2 separate regions of the Homo sapiens genome follow, and region 1 is linked to region 2. The links are contacts of gene promoters, found by promoter capture Hi-C in human tissues and cell types (Jung and others, 2019). All regions are on one chromosome and are shown on one strand. The core of a region is centred on a gene start or on the middle of the fragment in contact, and the rest is flanking DNA. Distances in the headings are between cores, read along the strand shown.

The links. The method cuts DNA at HindIII sites, captures the fragments that hold promoters and counts their contacts. A contact is called where the count stands out against the background at its distance.
Region 1: the fragment with the promoter of DHDH here is called in contact with a fragment that was not itself captured in region 2 in 2 of the 25 tissues and cell types used here (dorsolateral prefrontal cortex and pancreas).

What each region holds. Positions count from the first base shown.
Region 1 is chr19:48,928,292-48,934,948 of GRCh38, forward strand. It overlaps DHDH (dihydrodiol dehydrogenase), which reads left to right and starts at 5,408. Exons shown (of 7, transcript NM_014475.4): 1 at 5,408-5,520. The coding sequence starts at 5,431. RefSeq lists an enhancer at 4,981-5,482. The HindIII fragment of the contact is 30,682 bases long and covers 1-6,657 here.
Region 2 is chr19:48,723,844-48,731,181 of GRCh38, forward strand. It overlaps RASIP1 (Ras interacting protein 1), which reads right to left. Exons shown (of 12, transcript NM_017805.3): 5 at 5,094-5,747; 6 at 3,550-3,587; 7 at 3,164-3,315; 8 at 2,942-3,045; 9 at 874-1,117; 10 at 494-666. It overlaps LOC124904737 (a long non-coding RNA gene), which reads left to right and starts at 4,301. Exons shown (of 2, transcript XR_007067286.1): 1 at 4,301-4,525. The HindIII fragment of the contact is 9,581 bases long and covers 1-7,338 here.

The DNA.
Region 1 (6,657 bases), core at 4,158-6,657, 210 kb after region 2:
ATACAAAATTAGCTGGGTGTGGTGATGGGCGCCTGTAATCCCAGCTACTCATGAGGCAGGAGAATCGCTTGAACCCAGGAGGCGGAAGTTGCAGTGAGCTGAAATTGTGTCACTGCACTCCAGCCTGGGTGACAGAGCAAGACTCCGTCCAAAAAAAAAAAAAAAAAAAAAGGGACCATGTTCTAGTGTAGGGGTAAGTGGATTGTTTTGGCCCCAACCCCAAGAGGATCAAGGGAGACCACTGCAGCTGCCCGAGAAATTCTTGCCCTCTGACAAGAAACACCCTATCCAGTCTGGGGAATTTGCCAGTCCAACCCCTCCCCTTGGCTCAAGATTCTGGGAAATCCTAAATAGTGTTTACCATTGGCCTTTTATCAGCTCCAGTATAAATGCGTCTGGCCAGACTTGCTTTACAACTATGCATAATGGATAGTTGGGCCAGGCTTGGTGGCTCATGCCTAGTGCTTTGGGAGGCCGAGGTGGGAGGATCACTTCAGCCCAAGAGTTGGAGGCCAGCCTAGGCAACATGGTGAGACACCATCTCTACAAAAAAAAATTTTATTTTCTGTTTTTTTTTTGAGACGGAGTGTGGCGCTGTCACCCAGGCTGGAGCAACAGAGCCAGACTTTGTCTCAAATAAATAAATAAATAAATAAAACCTGCAAAAAAATTTTTTTAAATGCCATTTTTCTTTCTTTCTTTCTTTCTTTTTTTTTTTGAGGCAGAGTCTTGCTGTGTCACCCAGGCTGGAGTGCAGTGGCGTGATCTCGGCTCACTGCAAGCTCTGCCTCCCGGGTTCACGCCATCCTCCTGCCTCAGCCTCCTGAGTAGCTGGGACTACAGGCGCCCGCCACCATGCCCGGCTAATTTTTTGTATTTTTAGTAGAGATGGGGTTTCACTGTGTTAGCCAGGATGGTCTTGATCTCCTGTCCTCGTGATCCGACCACCTCGGCCTCCCAAAGTGCTGGGATTACAAGCGTAAGCCACCGCGCCTGGCCATTTTTCTTTTTAATCAATCCTGCCACTTGAAGATTATATGGTAAGGGAAATCTGCAGTCTATACACAATACTGAGTTGCTCCAAGCCCTTGAGGATTGTGAGGGACCCAGTGTTCTAATTCTTGCTAGAGTGTCTACCTCCATGTTACCAGAGGCGAGTCTGACCGGGTACTGACATGTGATATACCATTAAGTGTGCAGTGGGTTCTTTTAGCCTTTCCCAAATGTCTTTCCACATGGCAGCGCCCCACAGCATTTTCTTTTTCTTCTTTTTTCTTTTTCTTTTTTTTTTTTTTCTTTTTTTTCCTGGGCAACAGAGTCTCACTCTGTTGCCCGGGCTAGAGTGCAGTGGCGTGATCTCGGCTCACTGCAAGCTCTGCCTCCTGGGTTCAAGCGATTCCAGTGCCTCAGCCTCCCAAGTAGCTGGGATTACAGGTGCACACCACCACGCCCAGCTAATTTTTGTATTTTTAGTAGAGATGGGGTTTCACCCTGTTGGCCAGGCTGGTCTCAAACTCTTGACCTCAGGTGATCCGCCCGCCTCGGCCTCCCAAAGTGCTGGGATTACAGGCGTGAGCCACTACGCCCGCCCTCTTTTTTCTTTTTTGAGACAGAGTCTCACTCTGTTGCCCAGGCTGGAGTACAGAGGTGCCATCATAGCTTACTGCAGCCTCAACCTTCCCAGCTCAAGCGATCCTCCCGCTTCAGCCTCCCTAGTAGCTGGGAATACAGATGCACACCACCACACCTGGCTAATTTTTTGCAGGTTGGTCTCGAACTCTTGGGCTCAAGAGATCTGCCCGCCACAGTCTCCCAAAGTGCTGGGATTACAGGCATGTGCCACCGTGCCCGGCATATTTTCTTTTCAGTGTTTACCTTTTTGCCTCCTCTGAGGTGCTGGAGTGCAGCAATAAGAAAGTAATAATTTTAGGCCGGGCGCAGTGGCTCACGCCTGTAATCCCAGCACTTTGGGAGGCCGAGGAGGGCGGATCACGAGGTCAGGAGATCAAGACCATCCTGGCTAACACAGTGAAACCCTGTCTCTACTAAAAATACAAAAAATTAGCCAGGCGTGGTGGTGGGCGCCTGTAGTCCCAGTTACTTGGGAGGCTGAGGCAGGAGAATGGCGTGAACCCGGGAGGCAGAGCTTGCAGTGAGCTGAGATCGAACCACTGCACTCCAGCCTGGGTGACAGAGCAAACCTTCATCTCAAAAAAAAAATATATATATATATTATATATATATATTTTTTTTTTTAGACCGGGTCTTCCTCTGTTGCCCAGGCTGGGGTGCAGTGGTGTGATCTCGGCTCACTGTAACCTCTGCCTCCCAGGCTCACGCCACTCTCCTGCCTCAGCCTCCAGACTACAGGTGCCCGCCACCACGCCTGGCTAATTTTTTGTATTTTTAGTAGAGATGGGGTTTCACCGTGTTAGCCAGGATGGTCTTGATCTCCTGACCTGGTGATCCACCCATCTTGGCCTCCCAAAGTGCTGGGATTACAGGTGTGAGCCACTGTGCCTGGCCGCTGAGTAGTATTTTGTTGAATCCACTGGCAGCTTAAAGGACATTTGGGCTTGAGCTATGTACAGCTGCTAACACCTGTGCACTGGTTTGTGTGCAAACATGTTATTTTTTCTTTCTAGGACAAATACCTGGGAGTATCAAAATTATTTTTTGATATTTATTATTAAATGATTTTTTCTTTTTCTTCATAGTAATGATATTGTGTCCTATGTGGATTTCCCTCCCCCTAAACCTTTTTTTTTTTTTTTTTTTTTTTTTGAGACAGAGTCTCTCTCTGTCACCCGGGCTGGAGAGCAGTGGTGCGATCTTGGCTCACTGCAACCTCCTCCTCCCAGGTTCAAGCAATTTACCTGCCTCAGCCTCCCAAGAAGCTGGGATTGCAGGCGTCCGCCACCATGCTTGGCTAATTATTTTGTATTTTTAGTAGAGATGGGGGTTTCACCATGTTTGCCAGGCTGGTTTCGAACTCCTGACCTTAAGTGATCCGCCCACCACGGCCTCCCAAAGTGCTAGGATTACAGGCATGAGCCACTATGCCCTGCCCCCTCCCCCCACTTTTTTTTTTTGGTAGAGATGGGGTCTTGCTTTGTTGCCCAGGCTGGTCTCAAAGTCCTGGCTTCAAGCATTCCTCCCATTTGGGCCTCCCACAGTACTGGGATTACAGGCGTGAACCACCGTGCCTGGTCCCATTTGTGTTTCTATTCAGCAGTTTGTGTAAACTTGAAGTCTGTGAATCCATGTGTGACACTCAGGTCTTAATTATTGTCTACCAAGTAAGAGAAAGTGACAATATCCTGCCCTGTGTGAAGCTGGCCAGCCAGTTAGGAATTATCATGTCCCAACCAGCCTGGGAAACTTGGCAAGACCCTGCCTTGATAAAAAGTTTAAAAATCGACTGGACACAGTGTCTCATACCTATAATCCCAGCACTTTGGGAGGCTGAGGCAGGAGGATTGCTTGAGCCCAGGAATTGGAGACCAGCCTGGACAACAAAGTGAGACCTTTTCTGTACAAAAAATTGCTGGGCATGGTGGCTCATGCAGGTAATCTCAGCACTTTGGGAGGCCAAGGCAGGCGGATCACCTGAGGTCAGGAATTCGAGGCCAGCCTGGCCAACACAGTGAAACCCCATCTCTAGTAAAAATACAAAAATTAGTCGGGCGTGGTAGTGGGCGCCTGTCATCCCAGCTACTCGGGAGGCTGAGGTAGGAGAATTGCTTGAAACTGGGAGGTGGAGGTTGCAGTGAGCCAAGATTATGCCACTGCATGATCACCCCAGCCTGGATGACAGAGCGAGACTTCGTCTCAAAAACAAAAAACAAACAACAACAGCAACAAAAATTAGCAGGCTGGGTGCAGTGGCTCATGCTTGTAATCCCAGCACTTTGGGAGGCCAAGGCAGGCAAATCGCAAGGTCAGGAGATCGAGACCATCCTGGCCAACATGGTGAAACCCTGTCTCCACTAAAAATAAAAAAAATTAGCTGGGCATGGTGGAGGGCGCCTGTGGTCCCAGCTACTCAGGAGGCTGAGGCAGGAGAATCACTTGAACCAGGGAGGCGGAGGTTGCAGTGAGCTGAGATCACACCACTGCACTCCAGCCTGGGGATAGAGTGAGACTCCGTCTCAAACAAACAAACAAACAAATAGCGGTAAGTGGGGCACATGCCTATACTCCCAGCTACTCAGGAGGCTGAGGCGGGAAGATAGCTTGAGCCCAGGAGTACAAGGCTGCTGTGAGCTATTATCACGCCACTGCAGTCCAGCTAGGTAACAGAGTGAGACCCTATCTCTAAAATAATTAATAAATAAAACAAAATAATTAGCCAGGTGTAGTAGCCAGTAGCTACTTTGGGTCCCAGCTACTGTAGTCCCAGGTACTAGGGTGGCTAAGGCAGGAGCTAATTCCTTGAGCTAAGGAATTTGAGGCTGCAGTGAGCTATGATTGTGCCACTGCACTCCTTCCTGGGCGACAGAGCGAGACCCTATATCAATAATAATTATAATAATACAGTATATTTTACATAATAGACCATAGAGCTCAATGAATCCTCCTCACAACCCTATGTAGGTAGATGTTATCATGATCTCTGCTTTCCAGAATAGAAAAGTGAGGACCAGAGAGGGCGACCTCTTGTCCAAAAGCAATACAGCCAAGAAGGGGCAAGGAGGGTTTTGAAACCAGTCGGCCAGGCTCTGGGGCTCCTAACAAGCAAAGCAGCCTGGTTTCTAAAACTATAGCTTCTGGAAGCAGCCAATTCACAGGTCTTTACCTCCTGACTGTGAGACCTCCAAAAAATGACCAGGGATCTTGGAGTCTGTTTCCCCCTTTGTGAACTGGGGACAATAGAAGCTACTTCCCAGGTCTGCGGGGAGAAATTAGGAACGAAGAAGGTAAAGCGCAGAGCTGAGGAGCTGGTCTACAGGTGCTCTATACATATTAGTAATAATTATTAAGTTTGCTGTTACAATCCTCTCTCTCTCTGTGAACAACCCCTAATGATGCGTGGCTTTGAGAGCAAAAAAGTCAGGGCAAAGTTTTGCCACAAAGTCCAGAGGGCAAGACATTAAATCTAACTCTCAAGGATTGGTGTTGGCAAGAAAGCAAACCTCTCCTCCCCACGCTGTCCTTACCCCGCGTATCCGACGAGCCTAAAGTCATAGGTAAGAGATCTGTAGAAGCGACGTCAAGGTGTGGTTCCCTCTGTAAGGCGGAGCTAAACGGTGCATTCGCCCAGCGGGGAAGCTAGAACTAAATGACCGCTCTGCCGACTGGAGCCAACGAGAATCGGCGTAGGCGCAATACGGGCGGAGGATGGGGACCCGCCCCCGGGGTGGGCGGGGCGTCAGGTACTTAATTCGCGCCTGGAGGGACCGAAGGTGCCGAGGGCTCCGCATCGCAACCATGGCGCTGCGCTGGGGCATCGTGTCTGTCGGCCTCATCTCCAGCGACTTCACAGCCGTGCTGCAGACGCTGCCTCGCTCTGAGCACCAGGTCTGCCCGCCCTCCGGATTCTGGGGAAGAGGAGGCGGGGGGCGGGACTCCAGAGTCTAAAGGAGGAGGGAGTTTAGGGTTCAGGACTAGTGAGTGGGTCGTCATTGCAGTGAAACGTCTGTTTCCTTGCTACCTCCTTCTCCATCTCTGTTCTGCAAACCTGTGGGGAAAAGAAAGATCAGATTGTTACTGTGTCTACGTAGAAAATGAAGACATAAGAAACTCCATTTTGAACTGTACTAAGAAAAATTGTTTCTGCTTTGAGATGCTATTAACCTGTAACTTTAGCCCCAACCGTGTGCTCACAGAAACATGTCCTGTATTGAATCAAAGTTTAATGGATTTAGGGCTTTGCAGGATGTGCCTTGTTAACAATATGTTTGCAGGCAGTATGCTTGGTAAAAGTCATCGCCATTCTCCATTCTCTATTAACCAGGGGCACATTGCACTGCGGAAAGCCGCAGGGACCTCTGCCCAAGAAAGCCTGGGTATTGTCCAGGGTTTCCCCCCACTGAGAAAGCCTGAGATATGGCCTCGTGGGAAAGGAAGACCTTACATCCCCTAGCCCGACACCAGTAAAGGGTCTGTGCTGAGGAGGAGTAGTGAAAGAGGGAGGCCTCTCTGCAGTTGAGATAAGAGGAAGGCTTCTGTCTCCTGCTCTCCCTGGGAATGGACTGTCTCAGTGTAAAGCGGACCATTCCCATTCCTTCTATTCTGAGATAGGAGAAAACCTACCTGTGGCTGGAGGCGAGATATGCTGGCAGTGATACTGCTCTGTTACTCTTTGCTACACTGAGATGTTTGTGTAAAGTGAAACATAAATCTAGCCTACGTGCACATCCGGTCACAGCACCTTTCCTTGAACTTATTCATGATACAGATTCCTTTTCTACATAGACACAGTAACAATCTGATCTCTCTTTCTTTTCCCCACACAAACCTGAGTGTCTTGAGGTTTGGAAAGGCCTTGATGTAAGCTACTATGAAGATAATTTCAATATTGGGGGATTTAATAACGGCTTTCCCCCAGATCTCTCTTTCCCAGGGCCCAAATGTCCAGCCCCCGTCATCTCTTCCCCCAGGACCACGTCTCCCCTTCCCCTGGCCAGAGCCTCCTCCTTTGCCTCCCTTCCACCC
Region 2 (7,338 bases), core at 3,476-5,975:
GTCGCCCCGGCTGGAGTGCAATGGTGCAATCTTGGCTCACTGCAGCTTCTGCCTCCCAGGTTCCAGCGATTCTCCTCCCTCAGCCTCCAGAGTAACTGGGATTACAGGCGTGCGCCATCAAGCCTGGCTAATTTTTGTATTTTTAGTAGAGACAGCGTTTCGCCATGTTGGCCAGGCTGGTCTCAAACTCCTGGCCTCAAGTGATCCACCTACTTAGGCCTCCCAAAGTGTTGGGATTATAGGCGCGAGCCACTGCTCCTGGCCTGGAAACTATTTTTAATAAGTTCCACCAGGATTCAGACACAGCCGAGTTTAGTCATTGTTGGTGCTGGCTTCCTTCTACCTGCCAATGTGTTACCCACAGTGTCTGAGCTGGGGCTGGGGATGGCATGGGGTTCAAGGGGAGCTCTGACGGTGAGCTGAATATAGAAGGTGGCTGAGGGGGGTTGAGGAGTCAGAGGTCAGGGGTCAGGTATAGCTGACCAGGAGTCACCTTGAGCAGGGAAGTGCGGGGCACACAGAGCAGGTTCACAGCCATGGAGAGTTTCCGGAAGAACTCAGTGGCAATGTCGCCCAGCCCAGCTCCCTGTAGCCAGTCCAAGACGAGGTCCAGGTTGGTTCGGATTTGAACAGCTCGGGACCATTGATAGAAAGGCCGGCCTTGACCTGTGGGTGTTAAAGGTATGAGAGGCAGTTGGTTGGCTGGACTCTGTGCTCCTGCCTCCCAGACTCTTCCTATCCTTCAGCCTGGGATCTGGAGCTTGTTCTCCAGGGTACCCAAAGGTGAGGCTTGAGCCCGTGGTGTGTCTAATATGACCTGAGTCTCAGTGGCTCCTGTCTTTGCCTCCCTGACAGCTCCCAGCCAACCTTCACCTCGTTCCATCAGCGAGTTGAGAAGGGATGCGTTGGAGAAGAAGAACAAGTAGCCAAAAGTCTGAGACACGAGGTCAGGGTGCAGCTCGCACTGGCTGGTCAGCTCCAAGGCTGCCTGGAACACGCCCAGGGTAGGTCTCAATCCTGGAGGCATGGCCCCCAGCTCCGCGCCAGGCCCCGGCAGCTCTGCACCAGCTGTGAAAGGGTTACTATCCAGGAGAGCAGGCAGCGTTGAATAGAGAGTCTGAGAAAATAGAGAAGTGGAAACAAGTGATTGGACTACAACTCCCAGGAAGCTTCAGGGTAATAGAGCATGAAGATAGTGGGGAGCTCCACCAAAGTCTTCTGGGAGTTGTAGTCCATTCTACAGTCAACACCCAAAGGGTCTCCGTGAGCAAATCCCTACTTGATAGAAGGGTATACAAGTTTCTCGAGTATTTTAAGATCACCTCTTGTGCATTGTGGGACTTGTAGTTCTCAGCAGAGACAGCTCAAGGAGGACAAAGGATACTGGACAAAGAGTTCCCTTTCAGTCAAAGAATTATTCATCCTGAATTCCCAAAGGAAAGAAAAAGAATGGAGAGTCAGGAAGTGGGAGTGGGATGGCAGTTTGCCAGTGGAAAATGAGATCAGGCCAAGGACAGGAAATGAGGTCAGAAACAGAAGAAATAAACGCACACTTGGCAGGAATGTACAGGAAGTGAAGGAGGAAAGGGCTTCACAATCCAGGCTGCTAGAGGAACTTAGAGACTGATAGTTAGCTGTCCCAAAAGATCCTCTCTCATTCTTGCACATAGGGCATCAAGCCCACCATAAGCCAGAAACCCTGAGAATGCCAAGAAGTGGTGTTAAGGTCAAGGGTAATGGGGGGGAAACTGGGGCAGAAAGCAGGCCCTTCCAGGAAGGGCACTCAGAGAAAAAGATCTGTCGTTCTGAAAGGGAAGTGAATTCAGAGCTGTAGGAAGTGAGGTCAGCAAGCGAAGGAAGTGGGGCCTGATGAAAGAGGATCTTCAGTTTAAATCACAGTTCCTGGCACTATTTGATCTCTAGCTATCTATCAATCATTTATCTATCTATTATATATGAAACTTAACAGTGACTGAAGAGTAGACTTAGAAAGTGGGAGATTCAGAAGGTGGTAATGGTGATGTTACCAAGTAGTGAGGTCAGCCTGTCAAAAGTGGTGATGATTACTTTTTTTTTTATTTCGTTTAATTTTATTTTACTTTTTTGAGATGGAGTCTGTCTCTGTCGCCCTGGAGTGCAATGGTGCGATTTCAGCTCACTGCAACCTCCGCCTCCCGGGTTCAAGCGATTCTCCTCCCTCAGCCTCCTGAGTAGCTGGGATTGCAGGCACGCGCTACCATACCCAGCTAATTTTTGTATTTTTAGTAGAGACGGGGTTTTACCATGTTGGTCAGTCTGGTCTCAAACTCCTGACCTCGCGGTCTGCCCACCTTGGCCTCCCAAAGTGCTGGGATTACAGGCGTGAGCCACTGCATCCGGCGTTATATTACTCTTTTGAGACAGAGTCTCGCTCCATCTCCCGGGTTGGAATGCAGTGGCATGAAGTAATCTTGGTTCACTGCAACATCCGCCTCCCAGGTTCAAGTGATTCTTGTGCCTCAGCCTCTCCAATAGCTGGGATTATAGGCGCAGGCCACCATGCCTGGCTAATTTTGTATTTTTAGTAGAGATGGGGTTTCACCATGTTGGCCAGGCTGCTCTCAAACTCCTGACCTCAAGTGATCCACCCGCCTTGACCTCCCAAAGTGCCGGGATTACAGATGTGAGCCACCGCGTTTGCCCAGGTGATGATTACAAAGGAAAAGAAGCCAGAAAGGCAGGAAGTGATGTAAGCTCTAACAAGTGGTGTCAGAACAGCAAAGTCCTTGGGTGAGATGGGATGTCATGTCAGAGAAAAGCAGAAAATCTTGAGTCAAATAGTGACATCAGAGCCACACAGTGTAGTTCAAACAAGAAGTGATGTTACCACAAACAGGAAGTGATATTACGTGAAACAGGAAGTGATGCTATGTCAAACAGGAAGTAAGAGGCAAGGGCCAACCTTGGTGAGGTAGTAGACAGACTGCTGGAAGGTACACATGATGACCTCATCCAGGAGGGCCATGGCCTCATCACATAATTCCAAGTCATTGCAGAGCTGTGGGTCTGAGGACAGGCTTGGGGTTAAGAGGGAGAACCAGAAGTCGGCAGCCAGGAGCCCAGGTCCCCAGGTGCAGGGCATGATGGGAGACTTGGACAAGCCTGAGCCTGAGTCAGAGCTCACCCTCTTGGTCAGCCTCCTTCTCCATTTCCAGCACCTTCTCCTGCACAAAGCTAAGCAGCTCCGTGGTGTTGGCCATCCACAGCATGAGTGGCCGCAGCTCCACAGACACAGCTTCAGGAGTCAGGGGCACCTCGGGGACCCCCTCAGGGTGGCTTGAAAAAGAGGAAGGAATTTGTGATCCCTGCCCAACCCTCATCATAGTTTACAAACCCCAAGATCTAAGTCTAAGTGGGAGAGCAAGACCAACTCCCATTGCGCAGCTGGAAAAGTTGAGCGCAAGGAGAAGCAGAAACTTGCACTGGGGCATGCATGGGGTGAACACAGAACTAGACGCAAAACCCAACCCCTGCATCCCTCCAGACCACTCTGCTCAGAATTTCTCTTACTTTTCTGGCTGACGGTCTCCAATTTCCTTAATCTTTTCCTGTGGAACAGTAAGATCAGAATCAAGGTGAGGGGGATCCACTGAGGGGCTTAAGAGTTAATACCCTGGTTTTTATAGAAGCACAACTCTCATAGAGACTGGTCCTACTTTTCTTAGAGATGGGGTCTTACTATGTTGCCACCGGTGGTCTCCAACTCCTGAGCTCAAATGATCCTCCCACCTTGGCCTCCCAAAGAACTAGGATTACAGGCATGAGCCACTGCAACCGGCCTTCACTCTTCATACGGATTCTTTTTTTTTTTTTTTTTTTTTGAGATGGAGTTACCCTGTTGTTGCCCAGGCTGGGGTGCAATGGCTCAATTTTGGCTCACTGCAACCTCTGCCTCCCAGGTTCAAGTGATTCTCCTGCCTCAGCCTCCCAAGTAGCTGGGATTACAGGCATGTGCTACCATGCCCGGCTAATTTTTTGCATTTTTAGTAGAGACGGGGTTTCACCATGTTAGCCAGGATGGTCTCGATCTCCCGACTTCAGGTGATCTGCCCGCCTCGGCCTCCCAAAGTGCCGGGATTACAGGCATGAGCCACCACGCCTGGCTCTTGAGACAAATTCTAATCCCACAAGCTTTAGAATGGTCTCTCCTTACTTTTTAAAACATACACACCCTATGATTATGAGTGATCTAGCTCCTTCAGGTCCTCTTCTCCAATTTTTACCCCCAAGAAACTCCTTAAACCTCTCTGGTTAGGCCCTAGCTCAATAGGATGGAACGTTTCCCCCACTCTGAATGGTTTCTTTCTGGAACTTCCATCTGTAGGTCCAGTGGATTTGTGCTTCCTCGCCTCCAAGAATGAACTCGCTCACTGCTATCCAAGCTCCAAGCCCAATGGGCTGCGGTGAATTCTCACACTGATCTCTGTCAACTTCTCATCCAGTGGGATCTCTCCCCCACCATCTCCCATAATGGTTTCTTCCTAAGGTGAGTTCGTGCTTAGGTGAGCTCTCCTAAGGTGAGTTTGGGCTTCCCTCTAAGTGCAGTGGATCTACATCTCCCAGCATTCTATGGGGGGGCCCCTTGCTTAATAACCCCAAAACACCGGGTGTGGTGGCTCACACCTGTAATCCCAGCACTTTGGGAGGCCGAGGCGGGCGAACCACGAGGTCAGGAGTTCCAGACAAGCCTGGCCAATATGGTGAAACCCCGTCTTACTAAAAATACAAAAAATTAGCCGGGCGTGCTGGCAGGCGCCTGCAATCCCAGCTACTCGGGAGGCTGAGGCAGAAGAATCATTTGAACCCCGGAGGTAGAGGTTGCAGTGAACCAAGACCGCCACTGCACTCCAGCCTGGGTAACAGAGCGAGACTCCGTCTCAAAAACAAAAGCAAACAAACAAACAAACAAAACCCAAAACCCCAAATCCTTCCCGAGGCGTCATGGGAACAGTAGTATCCAGCCCAGCTATGAAAAGGGTTGAAGGTAGGGAAGGGAGGCTGGAGAAGGGACTTGGGGCGCTGGTGGGGCTGGACGGCGATTGGGGGGCGCTCACCCAGACGGCCTCCTTGATGAGCCGGGCCAGGCGGCCCAGCAGTCGTGGCAGGTGGCCCAGCTCCAGCTCACGGGCGGAATGCTGCACGCACAGCGCCAGCAGCGTGGCGGGCCCGAGGGGCGGCAGGTCTCCCGAGCCGGCGGCTGCGGCGCGCACGATCTCGCCCAGCAGCGCCTCCTCCTCGCGCGGCCGGAAGCGCAGGACTGGCTCACGGCCGTCCAGGTAGGCGGCCAGTGCCTCGCCGCGCTCCTGCAGGCCGCGGCCGCACAGGCGACAGGAGAAGGCCCAGCCAGGGCCTGGCGGCGTGGCCCCGGGGCGCGCGGGCAGCCACGGCGGCCTCGCAGGCCCCGAGCCCCCAGTGCGGGGGTCCTTGTACATGAACAGGAAGTGCTCGCCCAGCCCCAGGAGGTCGCCCGGGTGCAGCTCAGCCTCCCGCAGCAGGAGGCACCCGTTGTGCGTGACTGGGGCGCCCCGGGACGGGCGCACCATGGCCGGGTGCTCAGGGCCCGCGCGCACTGTGCAGTGACGCGGCAGGATGTCCGGGGCGTTGAGGAAGGTGTCCACATAGGGAGCCGGGGACCCCCCGCGGCCAGACGAGTTCCCACCTCGCCCAAACACGTGCTGCTCTCGCGTCATCACATACACCACAAAGTCCTGGAGGGGAAACGAGGATGCACTAAGGACATCACTTCAATCCATATCTTCAGATCTGTTCTCTCTGTTTTCTACAACAACTTTTCTATTCCCACCAACTTTTTTTTTCCTTCTTCTTCTTTTTTTTTTTTTTTTTTTTTTTGAGATGGAGTCTCGCTCTGTCCTCCAGGCTGGAGTCCAGTGGCACGATCTCGGCTCACTGCAACCTCTGCCTCCTGAGTTCAAGCAATTCTCCTGCCTCAGTCTGTTGAGTAGCTGGGAGTACAGGCGCCTGCCACCACACCCGGCTAATTTTTGTATTTTTAGTAGGGAAAGGGTTTCACCATGTTGGCCAGGCTGGTCTTAAACTCCTGATCTCAGGTGATCCACCTACCTCGGCCTCCCGAAGTGCTGGGATTACAGGCGTGAACTATCGCGCCCGGCCCCCCACCGACTTTGAATAGACACTCCAAGGAGATCTGGATCTCAAAGGACTCTCTAAGCACCCGCAACGCCACTGAGTGGACTCTTCCCAGGCACTTTGTATGGTGGATGGTCCCATAACACCCATCCCGAAGACCGGCTATGTACAAGGAGACCCCCCTTTTTTTCTTTGAGACAGAGTCACGCTCTGTTGCCAGGCTGGAGTGCAGTGGCACGATCTCGGCTCACTCCAACCTCCGCCTCCCGGGTTCAAGCGATTCCCCTGCCTCAACCTCCCGAGTAGTTGAGACTACAGGCGCGCACCATCACGCCCAGCTAATTTTTGTATTTTTAGTAGGGACAGGGTCACCATGTTGGCCAGGATGGTCTCGATCTCTTGACCTTGTGATCCGCCTGCCTTGGCCTCCTAAAGTGCTGGGATTACAGGTGTGAGCCACCACACCCAGCCAGAGACCCATTTCTTAACATGGGCTCTACCATTTCTTTCCCTCAAGCATTAGATGCTTTCAAGGAGATCCCTATTTCTAAAATGAACTGTGCAACTACCCTCACCCTCAAAGAATGGACCTTTCCAAGGAAATCTCCTTTTCCCCATCCCTGGTCCCACCTGTCCATTATTTCACCCCCACCCCACCATGGTAAAGGCTTCCAGATATATTTCCCCTTCCAATAATAGTTTTTCTCAATATTCCTCAAGCAATGAATGGGTACTTTTAAAGAGATTCCCTTGGACTGGGCATAGTGGCTGACACCTGCAATCCCAGCACTTTGGGAGGCCGAGGCAGGTGAATCACCTGAGGTCAAGAGTTCAAGACCAGACACGGTGAAACCTGTCTCTACTAAAAATACAAAAATTAGCCAGGCATGGTGGCGCATGACTGTAGTCCCAGCTACTTGGGAGGCTGAGGCACAAGAATCGCTTGAACCCAGGAGGCAGAGGTTGCAATGAGCCAAGATCAGGCTACTGCACTCCAGCCTGGGCAACAGAGTGAGACTCAAAAAAAAGAGGCCGGGCGCAGTGGAGACCAAGGCCGGCAGATCACCTGAGGTAGGGAGTTCGAGACCAGCCTGACCAACGTGGAGAAACCCTCTCTCTACTAAAAATACAAAATTAGCCAGGTGAGGTGGCTCATGCCTATAATCCCAGCTACTCGGGAGGCTGAGGCGG